7 separate regions of the Homo sapiens genome follow, and all the other regions are linked to region 1. The links are contacts of gene promoters, found by promoter capture Hi-C in blood cells and fetal thymus (Javierre and others, 2016). All regions are on one chromosome and are shown on one strand. The core of a region is centred on a gene start or on the middle of the fragment in contact, and the rest is flanking DNA. Distances in the headings are between cores, read along the strand shown. Region 1 holds the start of TNS3 (tensin 3). Region 2 has its middle 4.4 kb from the start of UPP1. Region 3 has its middle 320 kb from the start of SNORD151. Region 4 overlaps SUN3 (Sad1 and UNC84 domain containing 3). Region 5 overlaps HUS1 (HUS1 checkpoint clamp component). Region 6 has its middle 6.6 kb from the start of PKD1L1. Region 7 overlaps PKD1L1 (polycystin 1 like 1, transient receptor potential channel interacting).

Evidence for each region. Contacts are between HindIII fragments. The CHiCAGO score rates a contact against its expected background, and 5 or more counts as called.
Region 2: a contact is called between a fragment that was not itself captured here and the fragment with the promoter of TNS3 in region 1, in 1 of 17 cell types (M0 macrophages). The highest score is 5.5, in M0 macrophages.
Region 3: a fragment that was not itself captured here is called in contact with the fragment with the promoter of TNS3 in region 1 in 1 of 17 cell types (total B cells); the score reaches 7.5 in total B cells.
Region 4: a fragment that was not itself captured here is called in contact with the fragment with the promoter of TNS3 in region 1 in 2 of 17 cell types (M0 macrophages and total B cells); the score reaches 6.0 in M0 macrophages.
Region 5: a fragment that was not itself captured here is called in contact with the fragment with the promoter of TNS3 in region 1 in 1 of 17 cell types (M0 macrophages); the score reaches 5.0 in M0 macrophages.
Region 6: a fragment that was not itself captured here is called in contact with the fragment with the promoter of TNS3 in region 1 in 3 of 17 cell types (M0 macrophages, M1 macrophages and M2 macrophages); the score reaches 6.8 in M0 macrophages.
Region 7: a contact is called between a fragment that was not itself captured here and the fragment with the promoter of TNS3 in region 1, in 3 of 17 cell types (total B cells, naive B cells and M2 macrophages). The highest score is 9.9, in total B cells.

The regions. Positions count from the first base shown.
Region 1 is chr7:47,580,526-47,583,547 of GRCh38, forward strand. It overlaps TNS3 (tensin 3), which reads right to left and starts at 1,586. Exons shown (of 31, transcript NM_022748.12): 1 at 1,526-1,586. RefSeq lists enhancers at 922-1,459, 1,460-1,997. The HindIII fragment of the contact is 9,706 bases long and covers 1-3,022 here.
Region 2 is chr7:48,083,349-48,086,370 of GRCh38, forward strand. No RefSeq gene overlaps it. Among named protein-coding and RNA genes, the nearest start is that of UPP1, 4.4 kb to the right of the region's middle. The HindIII fragment of the contact is 4,999 bases long and covers 1-3,022 here.
Region 3 is chr7:47,145,522-47,148,543 of GRCh38, forward strand. No RefSeq gene overlaps it. Among named protein-coding and RNA genes, the nearest start is that of SNORD151, 320 kb to the right of the region's middle. The HindIII fragment of the contact is 1,360 bases long and covers 754-2,113 here.
Region 4 is chr7:47,994,865-47,997,886 of GRCh38, forward strand. SUN3 (Sad1 and UNC84 domain containing 3) reads right to left here. Exons shown (of 10, transcript NM_001030019.2): 7 at 1,167-1,282. Among named protein-coding and RNA genes, the nearest start is that of HUS1, 17 kb to the left of the region's middle. The HindIII fragment of the contact is 4,013 bases long and covers 1-3,022 here.
Region 5 is chr7:47,973,187-47,976,208 of GRCh38, forward strand. It overlaps HUS1 (HUS1 checkpoint clamp component), which reads right to left. Exons shown (of 8, transcript NM_004507.4): 5 at 2,427-2,501. Among named protein-coding and RNA genes, the nearest start is that of HUS1, 4.9 kb to the right of the region's middle. The HindIII fragment of the contact is 1,348 bases long and covers 866-2,213 here.
Region 6 is chr7:47,953,518-47,956,539 of GRCh38, forward strand. It overlaps a transcript of PKD1L1 not described here. Among named protein-coding and RNA genes, the nearest start is that of PKD1L1, 6.6 kb to the left of the region's middle. The HindIII fragment of the contact is 1,607 bases long and covers 825-2,431 here.
Region 7 is chr7:47,910,850-47,913,871 of GRCh38, forward strand. The region is part of intron 8 of PKD1L1 (polycystin 1 like 1, transient receptor potential channel interacting); the gene reads right to left. Among named protein-coding and RNA genes, the nearest start is that of PKD1L1, 36 kb to the right of the region's middle. The HindIII fragment of the contact is 1,845 bases long and covers 530-2,374 here.

The DNA.
Region 1 (3,022 bases), core at 336-2,835:
ACCACACCCCCACCAGGACCCAGTGCACCTCCATCTCTGTGTAATGGCCTTGCCCCTCCACCCTCCAGCTGCAGCGACTCCCCACCCCCTCCCTGGCCCTCAAGGCCTCAGCACAGAAAAGCCTTTCTTAATACTTGTTGATTGATTTGCAAATATAACCTCACAGGCCCCAAAGAGAGAAGAACCAGAATCACCAGAACAAGTAAACCTCATTCAAAAGGGAAAGCATGAAAGCAATTTAAAAAATTAATATGCACAGACCAAAGCCTCAAGAAAATCTAAAATGTCAAAGGGTTGGTTAGTTCAGAAGGGCCATGCAATATTAATACAATGAGTTCTGCATTCATACTTTTCAGTATATTTTCAGAGTCCTCCATGATCATGCATTCAAATAGTGAAAAAAATGGGGGGAAAGCCAACCCGGAAGATCAAAGTGTGTGAATGCGCCCCAAGGAAGCCTGGGGGCTTCCCAGGGGGTTGTGACCACCCTCAGTAGTGCTCTCTGCTGGCCCCACACCCTGATGGCGCTTTGAGTTTTTCAACCACGCTGGAGTTCGGGTCATCTGCTGACACTGTCTGGAGAATGCCTGAGGAACGCCTGAATCTCTTCCCGCCACAGACACTCAAATCACTCCAAGCAAAGGACCCGGGACTCACATGTCAGGCCGCTGCACAGCACCGACACAGAGACCCCTGGGCCGTCCGGGACCCTCCCTCCTCCTGCTTGTCAGCGACAGCTCCCGCGTGCCAGGAGGCACATGCCACACAGCTGGCCCCCAGCCTGGGACAGCACCCCCCACCCCAGAATATCCCCCCACCCCGAGGTCCCGTCCTTCAGGGAAAAAAAGGAAGCGCGTAAAGACCCCCTGCCTCCCACCCACCAAAGGGAAAGGGAAAGAGACGCACTGGAGAGCTTGCCTAGAAAAAGTAGGAGAAGGGTCTTGAGCCTGCCCATTGAAGCCCCTAGCTGCGCTCTCCACCTGGAGTCTCGAGACGGAGTCCTAGGGAGCAAAGTCCGCTCGGTCCCGACAGCGACTGCGACATAGCTGCTCCGGTCTCTGCCCTCAGTCCAGGGCGCCCGGGCGCCACGGGTCCCACTCGAGTGGTCCTGCGCCCCAGCCAGTCCCCAAACCCAGCCAGTCAGCGCCCCCGTCCCCGGACTCCGGCGAAGCTGGCCCGCGCCCCAGCCCCTGTCCTGGGACTCCTGCCGAGCCCCCGCCCCCCACGCGCCGCAAACCCCGTACCCGCGCGCACCAAACCCCTTGCCCGTGCGCCCCCAACCGGGTCCCCGCGCTCCCTAACCTGGGTTCTCCCGTGACCCCATCCCCGCGCCCTGAGCTCCCGTACCCCGCGCTCCCCGAACTCTGTCTCCGCGCTCCCCGAACTCAGTCCCCGCGCCCCAGCTCCAGATCTCTGTGCTCCCCAAGCCTCGTTCCTGCGCCCGGAGCGCGAAAGCCCGCGCCGGGCCCGAAACAAAGAGGACCGCGGCGCGTGGCCGCGTTTCCTCCTTCCCCGGCCCCAGTACCTGGGGGAGCCTGAGGCGCGGTCCGGCAGGGCGATGGCCGCAACGAGGCTGGGCTCCGAGTAGCGCGCGGGCGGGCCCGTCCTCCTGGCTGGCTGCCGGCGCCCGCGGCAGGGCCCCCTCGAGGCGGCGCGGGCAATCGCCACGGCCGGCCCCCGCGCCCGCGCCCCGAGCCTGGCGGGTCACCTGGCCTCATCACCCTAACAATGCAGCGCGCCTCCAGGCGCCCTTCACCGGGGTCCCCCGCCCTGCCGAGGTGCGCCCTGGGACCTCCCTTCGCTGGCCGCAGAGAGGACCTGGAATTATCAGACCCATTGAGCAGCCCAGGCTCCAAGTGGTCTGGAGGCTTGCAGGTTCCGCCGGGCCGGTGTTAGAGTACCTGGGGAGGCGGGTTCGGATCCTGGTTCCTGCACAACCAGTTCATTCTTTCATTCAGCGCCTGTGATTAAGGTGCTCTCCGGGAGCAAGACCTACCCTCCCTCCTGTAGCTCATAGCCTAGTGGGAGTCGCGCATACATAAAGGAGCACAGCCGCTCCGGAAAGCCTAGGGTGCCGTAGAAGCCCCTGAAATACCCAGCTAATGAAGGGAGGAGGTCAGGGAAGTCTTTAGAAGTCACATGACTTCTTAAAATGCGCCGGGACAAATGAGCAGAATTTAGGCAAGCCAGGGGAAACCAGAAAAACGATCCCGAGCAGAGAGATTCTCAGAGGAGGAAAGGCCTATAGGTTGTCCATCCTGACTGTCCATCCCTGAGATTCAGATGGCCCTGAACTCAGTCGCTTAGCCTCAGTTTCCCCATTTGTGAGATCGGGGGAATGGAAAAAGTTTGCAGAAATCAGAAGTGCTCTTCCTCCAGGGAGGTCACAAGAGAAATTTCATCAGCGGTTTGTCCTGTGGTCCTTTCCAGGAAAACATCCTCCCCGCCAGCCTCTCACAGAAGAGACCTAGATTTCATCTGCCACGTGGAGCAGGCGGTCTCAGAATCCCACCCGGAGCAGGGTCCAGGGCAAGTCTTGGAGGACAGTCACCAAGAACTGCTTTGGATTCGGGAACAGAGCTGCCTAACCCATCCGCAGCCCTGGGGTCCTGCCCTGTTCCTCTGGCCCCTTCAGGGCAGCGGGGGAAGCAGGGAAAACAGCCTGTCAGAGATGGCAGAGAAACCGAGCAAGAATAATTATCCTGGAAAAGACTTTCAGAAGTAACCACCAGAAACTTCGAGTCCCCAGATCCAAACAGCTGAGAATGTGGGGCCTGAGCCACGCTCTGACTCCACTCCCACCACATGAGGAGAAACAAGAGCTGCTTTTCTGGAAGACTTGAACAACCCCTGCTGTGCTCTGGAAGGTAGTGTCATTTCTCATCCCCAGACTGATCTGGGTATTTATTCCCAGGCAAAGGCTTCATGAGCACCATGCCCCAGCCCCTAGAGATGAGGCAGGCATTTTTCCTACACTCTAGGAGACACCAGGTCAAGAGTCAATGAGATGAGTCAAGGGGTG
Region 2 (3,022 bases), core at 167-2,666, 500 kb after region 1:
CATGGGTCATATGGCATGCTGAGTCCAGTTCAGAAATGAACCCTTATTATTCCTGGGTGGAATTTGTGAAGAATTTCAGTCTGAGATAGTGGTTTAGAGCAAAACCAGTCAGGTAGAAGGCTTCTTGGAAAACTGGAGAGCAAATGGAGCTGTGTGGCAGCAAGGCATGAGACAAGGGTGTTTCCTAGATTAGATGGTTCCAGAGGCCCTGAATGAGAAATACCACATCCTGCCAGCACCACCTCTCCTAAAGGTGAAGACTGAGAGGGCAAGAACCAGTCAGCCATTGGCATCCGTTGGGTAGCTGGCTGTGACTCCTAAGTGTTTTGTATAAATATCTCATGGCCTGTATCTTTTCTGTAAACATGGATATGCCTGTGAAGCCTCTGGGCAGCTGGAATCCTGTGGGAATCCTCCACTTCCTTGGAGGCTAGCCATTGACTGTGAGGACTAAGCTCTGACGTTTTTTTTTATCTTGCCAATTCTTATCTAAGGGGTCTGGGGAGTCATGCCCTATAAACAATGAATTCTCATGAGATGGGTTTTATTTAACCCTATATATCGTGACTTACTTTCCAACCTGACTCTGGCATAACATTACGAGACAGGGAAGAAAATAAAAATATTTTATCCCAAAACATGTTTCTTTGCCATATCTTGAAATGGCCCTGCAAAGCTGTCCTTTGTGGGGGAAATTTGCATCTGTAAAAAATCTCTATTAACATAGCTAGAGCTTTTTCTTCCAGGCTCTCCCAATTTTAAAGAGATTAACTGGCCGGGCACGGTGGCTCACGCCTGCAATCCCAGCACTTTGGGAGGCCGAGGCAGGTGGATCACAAGGTCAGGAGATCGAGACCATCCTGGCTAACATGGTGAAACCCTGTCCCTACTGAAAATACAAAAATTAGCTGGGTGTGGTGGCGGGCGCCTGTAGTCCCAGCTACTCGGGAGGCTGAGGCAGGAGAATGGCATGAACCTGGGAGGCGGAGCTTTCAGTGAGCCGAGATCGCGCCACTGCACTCCAGCCTGGGTGAGAGTGTGAGACTCCATCTCAAAAAAAAAAAAAAAAAAAAGAGATTAACTAAGTGTCTAGCACCTTTTATTAAAGATCTGAATAGGAAACATTTGTCATCTATTGTCTCTAAGGGCAGCCACTATAAGACTTCAAATACCCTGGGTCTCCACAATCTTTTATCTTAACCTGGACATTTCCTTTCTATCAATCCAGGTCTTTAGACAAACTCAACCAATTGTAAACCAGAAAATGTCTAAATTTACCTATAGCCTTGAACCCTGCCCCCTACCCCGCTTTGAGTTGTCCTGCCTTTCTGGACCAAACCAATGTATTTCTTAAATGTATTTGATTGCTGTCTCATGCATTCCTAAAACATATAAAACCAAGCTGCACCCTGACCGCCTTGGGCACGTGTCCTCAGAACCTCCTGAGGGCCGTTTGCTGTGTCACGGGCCATGGTCATTCACATTTGGCTTAGGATAAATCTCTTCAAATATTTTACAGAGTTTGACTCTCTTTGTTGACTACTAGGACCAGCAACCTGGGAAAGTGATGGCTCATCAGACTGGACTCAGCTGCCAGGGGAGTGGGCCTGCCACTGTGAGCCTATCTGAGCTGGGGGTGGGTCAGGGGACTGAGTAGCTCTATATGATGAGTGAGAGTTGGCGGGAAGAATCTCACTTTTTGTATTTTGGCAAGAATTTGAAATCTCAGGGGTCTGAGTCATGCTGTAGTCTCACCACAGGCCTCAGGGGAGTCAACTTCTGACCTGGAGGCCTGGTCTGGGTTTGTGGTGTCTGAGTCATAGTTCGTGTGATAAAAGTACGTGCTCTGGTGTGGAAAGCAGGCAGAGGCTTTTTCACTCCATTCTGTCTCACTGACAATGAAAATGCTAGCTGTGACCCACCACATGGGTTTCATGACCCACGAATGGACCAGGCAGCTGTTTAGAAAACACTGCGGCTCAATTTCTGCCCTCTCTGAGGGGTGTTCTAGAAATCTGTATGGCTGCTGGATTGGAAAGAAAAGAGCAATTGCATGAGGAATTGGGAAGTGAGGACAAACAGAGAAGAAGCCTCAGCTACTATCTCTAAAATATTATCTGAGAAAGAAAACAAACAAACAAACAACAAACACATTTCTTTTCCTGAGGAAGGTGAGCCTTTAAATTATCAGGCCCAGAGAACATTTAGAACAGAACAGCAGTCATGGCTCACTTCCCCTTCAGCTAAGTGGTTACCTCTTGAAGCCACTTGCTATGTGGCTGTAGAATAACTGAGGCCAATTAGCCATAAGATGCCATCCACCCTATAGTTCAACACTGTGTGGGCAATCACTAACCAATGTTATTTCTGTAAACCAATGAGGATTCCTGACAACTCTGCAATCGCCCCATCTCCTGAGTTGTTCTTTTTTCTTTAAAAACTTGAGCCTCCTTTTTGTTCTTGGAGCACTCCCCATGGCAACTTAGAAGTGTGTCCTGGGCTACAGTCCTCAACCTGGGCACAAATAAACTCTCTATGTTAATTTTGTCTCATCTTTCTTTTAGGTAGACACATTAGCTTTGGGAGAATTTCAAAGAGTTTGAAGTTACTTAGATTTGGGAAACCTGAAGGGCAGTGGTGTGTCACTATCTGGTGTGGCCTGGCCTTCAGCCTCTCAGCCCCTTCCCTCCCCACCTCTCAGAGCTCAGGGCCAACTGCATCTCTGAAAGAGCCCAAAGACCTTGTTGAGGAGCAGGGGGATCCTGGCTGAGCCTGCAAGCCCTGGGTCTCTTCCAGACTTTCCTGCCTCTAGCAGCTGCTGCTCTAGGTGGCCATTGGTGGGCTGCATTTGCTCTCTGCTTGCAAACATTGATGACACAGGTATTTTGGGTGTGGTTTAGTAGTGGCCCGACACAATTTTGTTTCCAGTTTGTCACACTGACAAGGTTTTAACCTGACAAATGTTAAACACAAATTATAGGAGGCCATTGTTTTAGACTAAGCTCTTGCACTAGGCCCCAAA
Region 3 (3,022 bases), core at 184-2,683, 440 kb before region 1:
TTGTCAAATGTCTGAATCAGCATATTAAATACACTCAGCCTGCATTCCCTCAGTACCAGTATTTCTTTGGTCCCCAGTTGACTGCTTTAGGTCAAGAAGGGTTGAATTGGATTAGAAGAAGTAGGAAAAGGAGGAAAAAGGAAATGGCATTTTTAGTACAGGGAAGAACACAAGCAATGGGATGGGGTGACAAAGTTGCACACAAGTGAAGGAGCAACACAGGAGGGGTGGGGAGTGGGGTAGGGCACCAGCAGGAAGAGCTCTGAAGGAGGGCCCAGCTAGAGTTTATGCTATATATTACAGGTAACAGGGAACCAGAAAAGTGTGTGGGAAGAGTGACATGATTGGGCCTTGTGTGGGAAATATATTGGAGCAATTGCACTTCTCATTTGAGGAGGGAGTACAGGGTAGGCAGAAAGATGAAACCAAAGGCTTTAATAGTAATCCAGATGAAAACAGGTAATGGTTAGAAATAGGGCTTGGTAATGAGCAAAGAAGCAGATAAAACCAGGAGCATATCAGAAGTAAAATGAACCAGAGTTAGTGAAAAGATGGGGTTGTAAGAGAGATGGCTGTGGGATGTTTTCAGCAGGAGGGATGCCTCAGGGTGGGGCTGCCATTGGCTGAGATAGTGACTGTGAGCAAAGCAATACATTTCTAGGGAGGGTGACAGATCTATTCTGAGCTGTGATGGAATGTCCTGGTAGAAATGTCATGCAGGCAAATGAAAGTTTTCACCTGGTGTCACAAGAAAGCTTGGGTGACAGGTGTATACTTGTCACTTATGAGATGAAGATGGAAGTTGAAGTGAAGAGAGAGGCTGAGCTAACCCGGAGAGATATACAATATGGAAAGGGAAGAAGCTAGAGTCAGAAATCTAAGGACAGTACTATTTAAAGGGTATGTTGAAAAGAAGGACGGGGAAAAGGGAAGAGGAGAAGAACTGAAAAACAAACCAGAGTTTTGTACACCAAAGTAAAGAGAGTTTCATGAAGAAAAGTATGATCATAATTGTAAGTCGATACGCGAAAGTTGAATATGAGAAAGAATGAAAAGAAGCGGAATAATCAGAAAGTCATTAGTTACCTTTGAGGGAGCATTTTCAGTCCCGTGGTTATGTGATAGGGTATAGAGATCGGCCTCAGTTTTGTTGAGAATTCAGGAGGAAATCAGCAGAGGCAGCACATGCAGGGAATTCTTTCAGAAGTTTCGTATAAATAGAGATAAAAGCAAATTGCCACAAAATGTGTTCAATGTAGGGAGACCAAAGCAAATATAGATACCACCATATACAGGAGTGAATGGTAGCACCACATGATGTACCTGAGTCAAACTTGGGAGAACTTCCTTTCTCTTGTTCTGTATGTGTTCTTTCAAAAAATCTTCAAAGATTATTACACTATTAAAGTTTTGCTACAATCTTCAGGAGTTCTTCAGCTAATCAATAGCATTTTCCTTTGCAAGTCACGTGTCAGAAAATTTACGCTTTGTTAACACAAGTAATATTCTTCACTGGGGAATAACTTAATCCAGCTTCTCTCACTTGCCCCTTTGCCATCCTCAGAAATATCTGGTCATGAGTCACTTTTTGCTCATGCAGTACTCCTAATAGGTTCAAGAGATTTTTCTACATAAAGTGTCTCTATGTATTGAGAGACTGTGGCCAAATCTATCTTTTCCTTACCCATGACCAACTCTAAATAGGAGCACCTAGTGTCTGTTGCAGGGCCCTGGCGGGGAGGGGGGGTGGCAGCAAGTGAGGACAAAGCTGCCAAGGGCTAGCAGTAACCAGTCAACGGGTCCTACCATCTGAGTTCCTATGACAAGTTCCCCACCTACATGGTGAGGTGTTTTAGAGCTGTGGTCAAACGTTTTATATAAACAAGAGCTGAGACCACAAACTATTAAGTGCAACATGTCAGTTAATAATTATTTAGTGTCCAGAGCCAAGAAAGTACTTCTCACACAGAGTGTCCTTGAAAAGAGAACCATGATATTTACAATGCCAAGAGGACTTTTGTGAAGCAAGGCTATGTGTGAAGCAAGGCTATGTGTGAAGCAAGTATGCAAATGCAGACTGGGCTAGGCCAAGTTTGGCTCCATTTGGAATAAAAGCTTTCTTTTTCTCTGCTTCTACTACATGCAACAACTATTTTATTTGGTTGCTTTATTAGCAAGTAAGTGGAGCTGCAGAAAAGATTAATACAAATAAGTAAATTTTATTTAGCAAGTAAGTGGAGCTGTAGAAAAGATTAATGCCATTTGTATGACTTTTCTTGATTGCAGTTATTAAGAACAATTCTTTCCTTATCTTTAGTGGTATTTGTATTTTTATGTTACTTTTTTTAAATTTTAAAACTACAGAAAATATTATCTGTAGTATAATAAATACATTAAGATTAGTTAAAATCCCATCATGGGAGAAAAGCACTTTTAACATTATGTTCCAGTATTGATACATAGGGAAAAGATACAAAAATATAAACCAAAGAGATTTCCATAGAAATTATTTAGTGGCTACACAGCATTTCATTGTTTGGATGTGTCATATTTTATTTTAAAAATCCTCTGTTGCTGGATATTTATGCTGAATTCAACTTATTACTGTTTTTAACAATACTGAGAAAAATCTTACACATATATATTCATATATGGCACAAAATTTCCTCGACATACCATTGATAAATGAGATTGTTCAAATGGATTAGCAATATTTCAAATCAGATAATAAATGGTGTTTGTAAAGCACTTACTGATAAGATACAATTCCTAAAGCGTATTTTCAAACTCAAAGTAGAGATATATTTAACTACCCTCCATCTATGAAACAAAACAGAAAACGGAGTGGAAAATCCTGATAAGATTAAACATATTTCTTATTTATTGCCTGACCTAATTTGGTCAGTCACCTCTAGTTACCTTTAACAGTTTGAAGTCTGTGAGAGAGGCCTTTGACTTATGCTTCTTTCTTTAATGGAAGGATTTTTTTCCCTTTTTAAATAGTAAGACTTGTGTGATGATA
Region 4 (3,022 bases), core at 310-2,809, 410 kb after region 1:
GTGGTGATGGTGATTGCAATGGTGGTCATGGCAATGGTATCACCTAAAAAGGTGGTGGTAGAGGTAATGGTGATGGTAGTAATGGTAGTGGTGGTTGTAGTGATGGTGATAATTGAAGTGGTAGTGGTGATGGTGATTGCAATAGTGGTCATGGCAATGGTATCACCTAAAAAGGTGGTGGTAGAGGTAATGGTGATGGTAGTAATGGTAGTGGTGGTGATAGTGATGGTGATAATTGAAGTGGTAGTGGTGATGGTGGTGATGAAGGTAGTGGTGGTGGTGGCAGTGATGGTGGTGGTGGTGGTGACAGTGATAGTGGTGGTGGTGATGATGATGGACATGGGGGTGGTGATGAAGAAAGATGGTGAGGTGGTGGTGGTGGTGGCAGTGATGGTGGCTGTGGTGGCAGTGATGGTGGTGGCGGTGATGGTGATGGACATGGAGGTTGTGATGAAGAAAGATGGTGCTGGTGGTGGTGATGAAGATGAGGGTTTTGATGGAGATGGGGGTGGTGGTGGTGGTTATGGTGGTAGAGAAGAAAAATGAGGTCTACTACTTTGTAGATATAAACTACAGCCTGGAATAAGATCAGTGGGTTTTACCCCTGAAAGTTCTAAATTTGCAACTAACTTCAGGTGTATGGATCAAAGTTGAGAGGTGCTCTGCTGTCTATTGATGGCTACTGCCTTTAGACTGTAACTGAAAAGTTTGGTGGGGATCTTACTTGGAGATTTCTCCTGTTATAATTAGACTTAAGAACATGTGGTCTGAATAGCACTTAACATAGTACAGTACTGGCACTTAGGAGACAAGTACTTTCAACAAATGTTTGTTGAATGACTGAAGTTTTCAATGGAAAAGGATGGTCACAGAATCAACTTACAGAAAAGACATGGAATGTATATGTTTTACTTGAAAATAAAATAATCTAGTTTACTAATCTTAAAATGATAAATAAGTAAATAATTAATCATAGTTTACTGACCATAAAATAAGACATAATTCATGCAGTGTACTGACTATAAAAATATAATGAGATGATTTCAGATTCTGTGACAAGTTCAGACACTCTTATATTGCCTCCATTTTTAAAATTAACATTTTCATGATAAATAATAAGAACAAAATTCTAAAATAGAAATAAGTGATTCTTAATTTAGCTTTACCTGAAGAATAATATCTGGAGGCATTTCATGATTTAGGAAACCTATCCCATGCCAGTACAATTTTGCTTTATTATTTTTATAACTTTCTGAGGTCCCAGCTTCAATGATGGAGGCTCCTAAAATTATAAAGTAAGTTGTAAAATAAAGAAACAACATACACAATTCAAAACACATCATTTGAATTTTAACAATGTCTCTAGAAAATTATTACTGGGCAAATTATAAGCGAGGTAAAATTCATACTCAGGAATTGATAGGAAAAGTATGACAGTTTTCACTACCACTGAAATTTTGTCATTTTGAAGAAAACTAGTTTGTTCTGTTTAGTTTCACAAAATGTATGATTAAAAAAATTGAATTTTGAGGCAAGTAAATTAGAGATGAGAATATTATATGGATTCTGTATCACCTAAAAACGTATATAGATCTTTATATTTTAACAGCTCATGTGATAAATGAGACTTCCTGTCATTCCCATTCACTCAATAACAAAAAAAGCAGAAAACCAACAATGCTCCAAATGTCCTTCAAGTTACATTTGTAGCAATTATGCAGATTCATTGAACTCTATTTTAATCAAAGAAATATGAAATATACTCATCAAACATTATCCCTTCAGGTTACTTCATTTTAGAAGCAAAATGTATTTTATACAGAATAAATAAAGAAAATGCAAATTGCTTTTACAAATTGCATTTGCATAACACACCACAACACTAAAAATACATGTGCCTCATCAAATATCTGATTATCCTTACTTTTTCTTTCCTTCTTTTTTTTTTTTTTTTTTGAGACGGTGTCTCACTCTGTCGCCAGGCTGGAGTGCAGTGGTGGAATCTTGGCTCACTGCAACCTCCGCTGCCTGGGTTCAAGTGATTCTCCTGCCTCAGCCTCCCAAGTAGCTGGGACTACAGGCGCCCGCCACCACGCCGGCTAAGTTTTTGTATTTTTAGTAGAGACAGGGTTTCACCATGTTGGCCAGGATGGTCTCGATCTCTTGACCTAGTGATGTACCCACCTCGGCCTCCCAAAGTGCTGGGATTACAGGCGTGAGCCACCGCGCCCAGCTGATTATCTATACTTTTCCTAAGATGACACACTTTTTGAAATAGTAATTGAGTTCCTAGAGTTGCCAGATTTGGCAAATAAAAATAAAAGACAGCCATTTAAATTTGAATTTCAGGTAAACAAAGAATAATTTTTTTAGTAGTAGTCATGTCCCATACAATATTTGGGATATATTTATACTAAAAGATTATTTGCTATTTGTCTGAAATTTAAATTTAACTGGGCTCCCTTCATTTTATCTGGAAACCCTATGTGTACTTCGTTTTTGAAGGCTAATTCTGACTGCCCGCTCACTATTCCTACTCGACCAACTGGCTGGACAGAATCTACACTTTCACCTGCTAATGTGGGGACTGAATACCCCATCCCCATAATCCTTTCCAGAAAAAAATTAAAATTTTAGTGTGGTGGAATTTTGAAAATAATTCATATTTATTCATTTTCTCATTCATTAAAAGATTTAAATCAGCTTTATTAAGATATAATTCACATCCTATACAATTCACTCATTTACAGTGTATGATTCAGGGTTTTGTATTATATTCTTAGAGTTGCACGGCCACCACAATCAATTTTAGAACATTTAGTCAACCCCAAAAGGAACCCATAGTGGTTAGCTGTCATTCCCCATTTCCCTCAACCTCTCTCCCCAAGCCTTGGCAATTATTAATCTATTTTCTGTCCCTGTAGATTACCTATTCTGGACATTTCTTTTGCTGCTCCCTTGTAGTCAGTCACAGTATGTAGCCTTTTCACTAAGGCTACTTTCATTTAGCCAATGCATTTGA
Region 5 (3,022 bases), core at 290-2,789, 390 kb after region 1:
AAACCTCTTTTGTTTATAAATTACCTGGTCTCAGGTAATATCTTTTTAGCAGCGTGAAAACGGAGTAATACAGGCACACATCACAAAGTACTGCTACATGATGTGGTCTGAAGACAGGCAGCATCGACATCTCCCAGGAGCTGGTCAGAAACAGAGCCTCAGGCTCCAGCTCAGACCTCCCAAATCAGAACCTGCACTTTAACCAGATTCCAGGGGATTCACACGCATGGTAGAACTTAGAAGCAATGTCTTAGAACATGATGTCAATTCCCTCCAGTTCTTGCTTCTTTTTCTGCTCCTGCATGAGTCACATACAACCCACCCCATCAGTCACACCTCGCATTTAATGAAAGGAAGTAACTGGGCATCTCTAATGGGAAGGTGGGCATTTTTAGTGTGTTAAGTCTACCCATTTTCCTTAATTCTACTGCCTGTAATATTCAGATACAGAATTCTGGATACCCAGGAAGACCTCATTATGTACTTTGCTACAGTAACTTGATAACTTTCCATTTAGTAATTCCAGATCGTAGTAGCCTCTCCACAATATTTCTATGTTTTTTTAAACTCCAAAAAAGAGAAAACAAAACACCTCTGATGATTCTAAGCTACCCTTCTACCTCTCTACCTTGCTGACTCATTTTCATTGAACAGAAAGAACAAACAAATGCCATCCTTCAATTAACAGCCCTGTCTTTTCTCTCCTGGGCCTCTCTGAATTTCTCTGGAAGTCCCCAGGGTATCCCCAGATGAAGCCAGCCTGACAACTGGATCAGCATCACTGCAGTCACAGGTGACACCAACGTCAGCACAGTGCACACTGCTTCATGGAAAACAGATTTTATAGATTAAGTTATGAAGGAAAAGCTTTGAGTTACCCAGGTCCAATGACAGCATTGCTCTTAGTGTGCAGAACTCTAGAAAAAAACAGTCAAATGTACATTTTCTAGGCTTCAAAATACTTTTGTGATTTCAAAGACCTCTTGAAGCTAAATTTTGTTCCAGATCCATGCAACACTTATTGCTGCCTACTGAGTGGCAATCCCACACTGGGCAGCTGGGACACAAAGATGATTAAGATGGGGTTTCCTTTATCAAGAAGCTGGTGGTTCACGAGACCTTCAGAGATCTTAGCAGGTGATTTACCATGTACACTGGACAGCTCAGCTCCATGGAGGAGCTTCCAGAGGGGTGGTGGGGAAAGGTCTGTGATGAAGCATGAGAATGGCTAAGTGCCTTCCAGGGAGATGGAGAGAAGAAGCCATGTGTCAAATGGCAAAGAAACTGAACAAAAAAGAAGAGGCATTGTGGGGGAATACCAGAACCCAGCCTCGTTCTGCAGGGAGGGTGTGGCAATACAACAGAGATGTGGCTATAAAGGTGGCCTGGTACACTGTCAAGATCAAAAGTTTATGCTTCATCAGGTGGACAGTGGTTTTTAGAAGATTCAGGGACATAACCAAGGGTGTTTTTTGGAGCAGGATAGGAGGGAGCAGGGGGAGGAGGGAGGGGCAGTGAGTGAAGGAAGAATTCACAATAACCCCAGGTATGAATGAGGATAACCTACACATTTCCCACCACTGTCACACACTGTAACATTTCGAGCCATGTGGCCATAGGAGACTTCCACAAAATAAACAGAAAATAAACAGAAATATAAAAGTGCCCCCTAGCTTGGTGTGAGGTGTGCTTGGAATAAAGGCTGCTATGGTGTGGCATATCTTTGTCCCTGGCTCACTGAAAGACACTTGGCACGCAGACAGGAAACTCCAAACTCACTGTCAGTCATATCAGTGACTCACAGAAAAATACGGGCACGTTAGCAGGTAAAAGATACAATGTTCCAGCCGGGCGCGGTGGCTCACGCCTGTAATCCCAGTACTTTGGGAGGCCTAGGCGGGCGGACCACGAGGTCAGGAGATCGAGACCATCCTGGCTAACACGGTGAAACCCCGTCTGTACTAAAAATACGAAACAAAAAATTAGCCAGGCATGGTGGCAGGCGCCTGTAGTCCCAGCTACTCGGGAGGCTGAGGTGGGAGAATGGCATGAACCCGGGAGGCGGAGCTTACAGTGAGGTGAGATGGCGCCATTGCACTCCAGCCTGGGCGACAGAGTGAGACTCTGTCTCAAAAAAAAAAAAAAAAAAGAAAGATACAATGTTTCATACAAAATATAAGAGGAAAAACAGGCAGATTAAAGGCAAATATAAAAGCTTTCCTCAAAGAATTAGAGTTGAAAAGTATTGGAATAGGTTTCTAAATCCAACTAGCAATCTGCAGGTTCTCAGCACCAGGCCAGGTCCTCATAAGTGGGAACTCGGTTAGGAGGTGCCCACCTGCATGGACTGCTGCAGGGTGAGCTGGAGAACCCACGCCGTCCCACCAAATACTTCAGAGTTCTTTTCTAAAGAAGTTGTGACTTACAAGGTGATTGCTGATGTTTTTCATTTTTTCCACAACACTCTTCATAGTCTTCAAGACTGGTAAATAAATACTAACCTACAAAACCAATGAGAAAAAAGCACAAGTATTAAAAATATTAATATACTCTAGTAATGACAAGGGCCCCATAACTAACTCTAGAACACATGCATGCTCAAAAACTATGGGATACTATTTTACAATTTTCTGAATAAAGTTCTTTTAAAAATATAAAAAGAAAACCAATTCTATTTCACTAACTCAAGGATGCTCAAGCAAAATTAAAGAATGGAATGCCTGCCTCTGGTTACCTCAGCAACCATGTCCCTGTGGGCATTCTTTTGGCTCAAGAAGGAATAGGGTACTTCAGCTGAGATGCCCCTATATTGGTCCAGGGGGAATATAACTCAGGCAATCAGCAGGAGGCCCTCCTCTAAGGGACATTTACACCTATGATTCAAGGGCCTTTTCCATGCTCTGTACAAAAACATGGCAGACAGTCACTGCATCACATCTGAGACTGTTACCAAGAGTGCTCTATAAAACACAGGCTTTTTCAAAATCAGTGTAGGTGCCATCTAGTAAAAGTCAAGTAATTA
Region 6 (3,022 bases), core at 378-2,877, 370 kb after region 1:
TTCCCCATGGAGCTGAGTTGGAGCACCACTGTTTCTCTTGGTTATTTCAGACCTGTCCAGTGTGAAGGGAGGCCCACCTGTCATTTGGGACAGGTTAAGCCACCAAACATCTAAGAATCACACTGGGCATTTCTTTCTAGATTTAAGACTGCATGCTCCAAAAACTGGTAAAGCCCCAGGTAGGAGCTGCTGTGGGAAGGCCAAATTTGAACTAGGTGAAGTGTTAATGAGGAAGTCCAGCATCCCATCAAGCACTTCCCTCACGAGGGCCCCTTATGTGCTCTGCCTCCTTGGCAGGGTTTATTTGCAAACAGTGAAAGAAGTGAACAGAGAAAAGACAAAAACACAAGGTAGATGCCCTCCACTCTGTTCTGGTTCTCACTTCTGTCTGGTCATGTTTTTCTTCCCCTGTAAGGGGAGGATCCTCCCCCAGAAGGCTTCACTAGAATTTTCTCTCAGCAAGGAAGATAACCAAAAAGATAATTTTAAATTGAAACTAGTATGGTAAAAAGTGGTTAGTGTATATATGTAGCCTCCTTTAAATTTTTAAATAGCTTGAGGTTAGAAACACAGGGCTGTCTGGTCACAAGGTTTGAGCCCTAAGGTCACTGGATGATGTCATGGTGCGCTAAGACACGCCAACCAAACCTCTATGAGCCTCGGAAGAGCCATGGAAGTCACCCAGTCTGCACTGTGTGCTGCCGTGAACTGGCAGCCTCTGGTTAGCAGCGTATTTTCACTGAGAAAAAAGCCAATTTTTGCTTGTTTTGTTTGGTAAGGCTTATGTTATGGTTTAAGTGTGTCCCCTAAATTCATAAGTTAGAAGCTTGGTCCTCTGCAGTGGTGTTGGGAGGCAGAGCCTGATGAGAAGTGATGAAGTCACAAGGACTCTGCTCTCATGATGGCTTAATGCTGTTACCAGGAGAATGAGTTGTTATCAAAGATGGTCTGCCCCTCTTGCCTCCTTTCTGTCTCCTGCACCCACTTCTGCCTTGTGCCCTTCTGCCAGGGGACAATACAGCAAGGAGGCCTTCACCAGATGCATCCCCTTACCTTACTTTGGACACCCCAGCCCCTAAAACTGTAATTACTCTTTTCTTTATAAATGACTCAGTCTGTGGGAATCAGCTATAGCCACACAACACAGACTAAGACCGCTTATAAATGCTCACATTTTACGCTTCCCAATTTAGAAACCTGCCAATGAGTAATGCTATTTTCTCTTATTCCAACCACCACAGGTGGTCAGCATGTTTAGTCACTGTTAGAGAAACTGTCTCAAGAGGCTGAATGACTTGCCCCAGACTAGGACGCTGGAAAGAGCCAAAATCCATTCCCAGATCTTAGGGTGTGGAATTCAGCATCTTTCCAAGCTACATATGCTGGTTATGGTTGTAAGATTGGTTCATTTGGTGCTACAGGCGAATAGGAACTAGATTCCAGGAAGGCGGCTACATTTTCTCGTGCTACCCACAGGGTCATCTTCCTTACTGTCCAGTGATTTGTGAAGTCCTGTGCGTGGCTGGTCTCTCCCAGGATCTTTTAGCCTACAACTTAATAACTGGTCACTCTGCCCTCACTGCAAAGACTGTTACAGACACTGATTGATCCTCATCCATGTTGGGCCCATGGTAAAAAGAGATGATTCTGCAATGTGGTGCCACCTTATTGATCGAGACTCCAGTATTCTAAACCTGGCATAACATCAAAATGACAAATAAAAAGTTTAATTTTCTATTTATGAAAATAAGGATGTGCTGTGAAAAGAGTCTGAAGTCCAATGTTCGGGAAACTGTAATTGCCGAGTGAATGTGTAAGGCACTCAAGTAACAAATATTTATTATTTAGTCCCTTAAAAATAATTTACTTTATTACAAAGATAGTAATACAATTTCTAGAAAATACATGCATGTACAAAGATTGAAATAAAAAAAACACTCATAAATATCCAGATTTAAATGTCAGCATATACCTTCCTGATCTTTTTCTATCATACTGTATCTATCAACATCTAACCTGCTTTTTTAACTATAAGTCATACATTTTGCCATATCAGTACACTTTTTTCTGTAACATTATTTTTAGAGCATATCAAACCATAGTTTATTTAACCAATCCCCAATTAATTCATAATTAGAATATTTCGTGTTTTTCCAGTATAACAGTTCTATAATCTTTGATTATAACCTTTGTGTAAATTCCTATAAGTATTGAGTCAAAGGAGACACACATCTTTTCAGGCATTACATATAAAATAAATACTAAACTAGACTCCAGGAAAGTGGTATCAATTCACATTCCCAATAGCACTGTCCCAATGGGGCTAATTTATCTCCTTTTTAATCTCAGCGTATTTCCAGTTATAACATACCATTTTTACCTCTTGATTCAACAATTGTACTTAGAAGAAGCTCTAAAAATCCAAAACTGAAGCTTCCTTTTAGACCCTCCCTATTACAATCCGTATGAAAGTACAGAATTCGAGAGTGACATCAGCCAAACGGAGAAGTGAAGCTTACTGGCTTCTCTCCCTACCACATAATTTCAACTAGCAAATACCCAGTGGCAAGATTATTGCCCTGAATATCCCAGAAATTGGGAGTGAAGCTGTGACAACTCACTGGACCACAGAGCCAAGAAAAACCATGAACAGAGGGTAAAGAGAATGGTTCTGTTTGATCATAACACCTCTCCCGCAAGCCCACATAGCACCGCACTTGGAGAATTTCTCTGGAATCAGTTTCTACAGTGGGAAAAGAGAGCGGGAGGTGGGCATTCACCTTCCGCACCATTCTGAGACTCTTCACAGGGGCACACTATGGTCCTTTCCCCCTGGAAGCACTGCAGGTGCCAGCAGGGTTAGCCTGCTAGGTGTAAATTAGAAACAAAGAATGGGGGTGGGGCTCACAGCAGTCAACAAACAAATCACAGAGTGGACTGCAGGGAACCTGGGCTTAGGGCACCATTTGGCACTACACGGGCTGTAGCGTTCACGGGCTTAAAGACCAAAAAAGACAGTATG
Region 7 (3,022 bases), core at 202-2,701, 330 kb after region 1:
GTGTGTGTGTGTATTTTTAGTAGAGACAGGATTTCACCATGTTGGCCAAGCTGGTCTCGAACTCCTGACCTCAGGTGATCCACCTCAGCCTCCCAAAGTGCTGGGATTACAGGCATGAACCACTGCACCTAGCCTCAAGTTGACTTTAGACTTAACCCCTGATAAAAGATGTAATACTGATATAGTTCGGATGTTTACCTCTCCCTAATCTAATGTGTCGAATTGTAATACCCAAAGTTGGAGGTAGAGCTTGGCGGGAGGTGACTGGATGATGGGAGTGGATTCCTCATGAATGGTTTAGTACCATCCTTTGGTGGTGTCCTTGCGATAGTGAGTGACTTCTCTTGAAATCTGGCTATTTAAAAGTGTGTGGCATCTCACTCTCTCTCATTTCTGCTTTTACTGTGTGCTGTGCCTGCTGCCCTGTAGCCTTCTACCATGATTGTAAACTTCCTGAAGCCTCCCCAGAAGCTAAGCAAATGTCGGCACCCGTGCTTACTGTAAAACCTGCAGAACCGTGAGCCAATTAAGCTTCTTTTCTTTATAAGTTACCTAGTTTGAAGTATTTCTTTATAGCAATTGGAGAATGGCCTAATACAAATACCAATTCCTTACTTTATTCATAAAACAACAAAAGAAACCAATGAATATGTATCAAAGTTGCAGATGCTTAAAATTATTATAATAGAGCAAGTCCTGATGTGAAATAGAGATATACTTAGCCTTCTACTTAATCTTCTAGGAGTTAATCCAAAAACAAAAAGGAAAACAGTGAATAAAAATAAAAACTTTTTCTCTCTTTGTTTAGTGAAACTAGGAGGTAGCTAGCATGTTCAGAATACAAAATAGACGCAAAAACTGCTAAAAGCGGCAAATATCAAGCATGCATGAGCAGGAACCGTATTGAAGGAAGAAAACAGAAAACGTCCTAAAGTGAGAACTCAGTTGCCAAAGGGCTCAGTGGCTGTGAATATCATCAACACGCATACATGTGTGTACGCAACACACACACACACACTCCACCAGCAGTTAGTTCAGAAAAAAATGCAACTCTTTAAATTATGAGTAATGCTGTGAAGAAAAAAAAAAAAAGAAAGGAAGGAAGAAAGGAAGGAAGGCAGGAAAGAAGAAGGGAGGGAAGGATAAAGGGAGAAAAGGAGGGAGAAAAGACCATTCAGCATGTACAAGATACTATAAGAGTCAAGAGGGAAAATTCAGGAAATACTCATAATAGATTAAGATAATTTATCAGAAAAACACTGTCCACAAGAACAGGACTGAACAACTTGAGGAATCGTTATCTTCTGAGATGGAAGACCAGAGAGCATCTGGTCTTGGAAGGAAACAAAGTCAACATTTTAGAGTATAATGGAGAATGGAAAGTGTAGAACACAAAAGAAGGGATGCAGAGGAAAATATGAGGAAAGCGGATCAGATGAAAAAGGAAAAACAAAAAAGATTTGAAAAGACAAAAGAGAACTAATAGATGTATGCCAGTCTCCCAAAAAGAAAGCTGACATATTGGAATAGAAACAATGTAAAGATCTAATTCAAGAAATCTTTCCTGAAACAAAGGACACATTGAAAAGGTACACCATGTGCTGGAGAAAGGTGACCCAGAGTGGCCAGCACTTAGACACGTGCTGGCAAAGCTGCTGGAGTTGCAAATAAAGAAATAACTACCGGCTGGGCACGGTGGCTCAGACCTGTGATCCTAGCACTTTGGGAGGCTGAGGCGGGTGGATCGCTTGAGGTCAGGAGTTTGAGCCTGGCCTGGCCTTCATGGTGAAATGCCATCTCTACTAAAAATACAAAAATCAGCCAGGCGTGGTGGTGTATGCCTGTAATCCTAGCTACCTGGGAGGCTGAGGCATGAGAATCACTTGAACCCAGGAGATGGAGGTTGCAGTGAGCCGAGATCATGCCACTGTACTCCAGCCTGGGCAACAGAGTGAGACTGTGTCTCAAAAAAAAAAAAAAAAAAAAAAAGAAAAGAAATAATTCTCATGACAATCACAGAAAAACATTAATCAATGACGGGGAAAAAAGAAGGCTGACTTTGGAATCACCACAAGGTAAGAAAGACAGAATGGAGAATTTCAGGGAGGCTTCTTCAGACAGAGTGTCAGGGCCACCAGCTGAATTTCTGATTCAGTAGGTCTGCAGTGGGCCTGAGAGTCTGTATTCTAAGCCAGTCTCAGGTGGTCATGATGCTGCTGGGCCAAACTTGGAGAACCATGGTTACAGGAGAGAACAGAATGGAAAGACAACCAGATTCCCCAGGAAAAGAACATGTGTCCAAGGAGTCCAGAGCCAGCACACTGTCGTTCCAACATAATGGCAGCAACAGTTTTGAATATGGGAACTTAGAGGAAGCTTATTGCATGAATTTTCCTAAAAAAAATCTACTAGAGGACAAACTTCAGACAACCAAACAGGAACACCATGCCAAAAAAAAGCTGAGTGAGGACCGAATATATTAGCTCTAGAACCGGAACTAAGACTAATGTGGGAAAGCAGGTTGATATGATTTGGATCTGTGCCCCCACCAAATCTCATGTCGAATTGCATTCCCCAGTATTGAAGGTTGGGCCTTCAGCACTGGCGGTGAGGAGGTGGGTGGTGATTGGATGATGGTGGCAGATTTCTCATGAATGGTTTAGTGTCACCCCCAATCCCTGCCACTTGGTACTGTCCTCATGATAGTGAGTTCTCATGAGATCTGGTCTTTTAAAAGTGTGTGGCACCTCCCCCCCTCTTGCTCCTACTCCGGCTATGTAACGTGTGTGTTCCCTGTTCGCTTTCTGCCATGATTGTAAGTTTCCTGAGGCTTCCCCGGAAGCTGAGCAGATGCCCACATCAATGTTTCCTATACAGTCTGCAGAACTGTGAGCCAATTAAATCTCTTTTCTTTATAAATTATCCAGTGTCAGGTATTTCTTTATAGCAATGCAAGAACAAACTAATACATAAGTAGCAGAAAAAAAGGTAAACATTTCATGTTCTGACAATGTAGAAATCA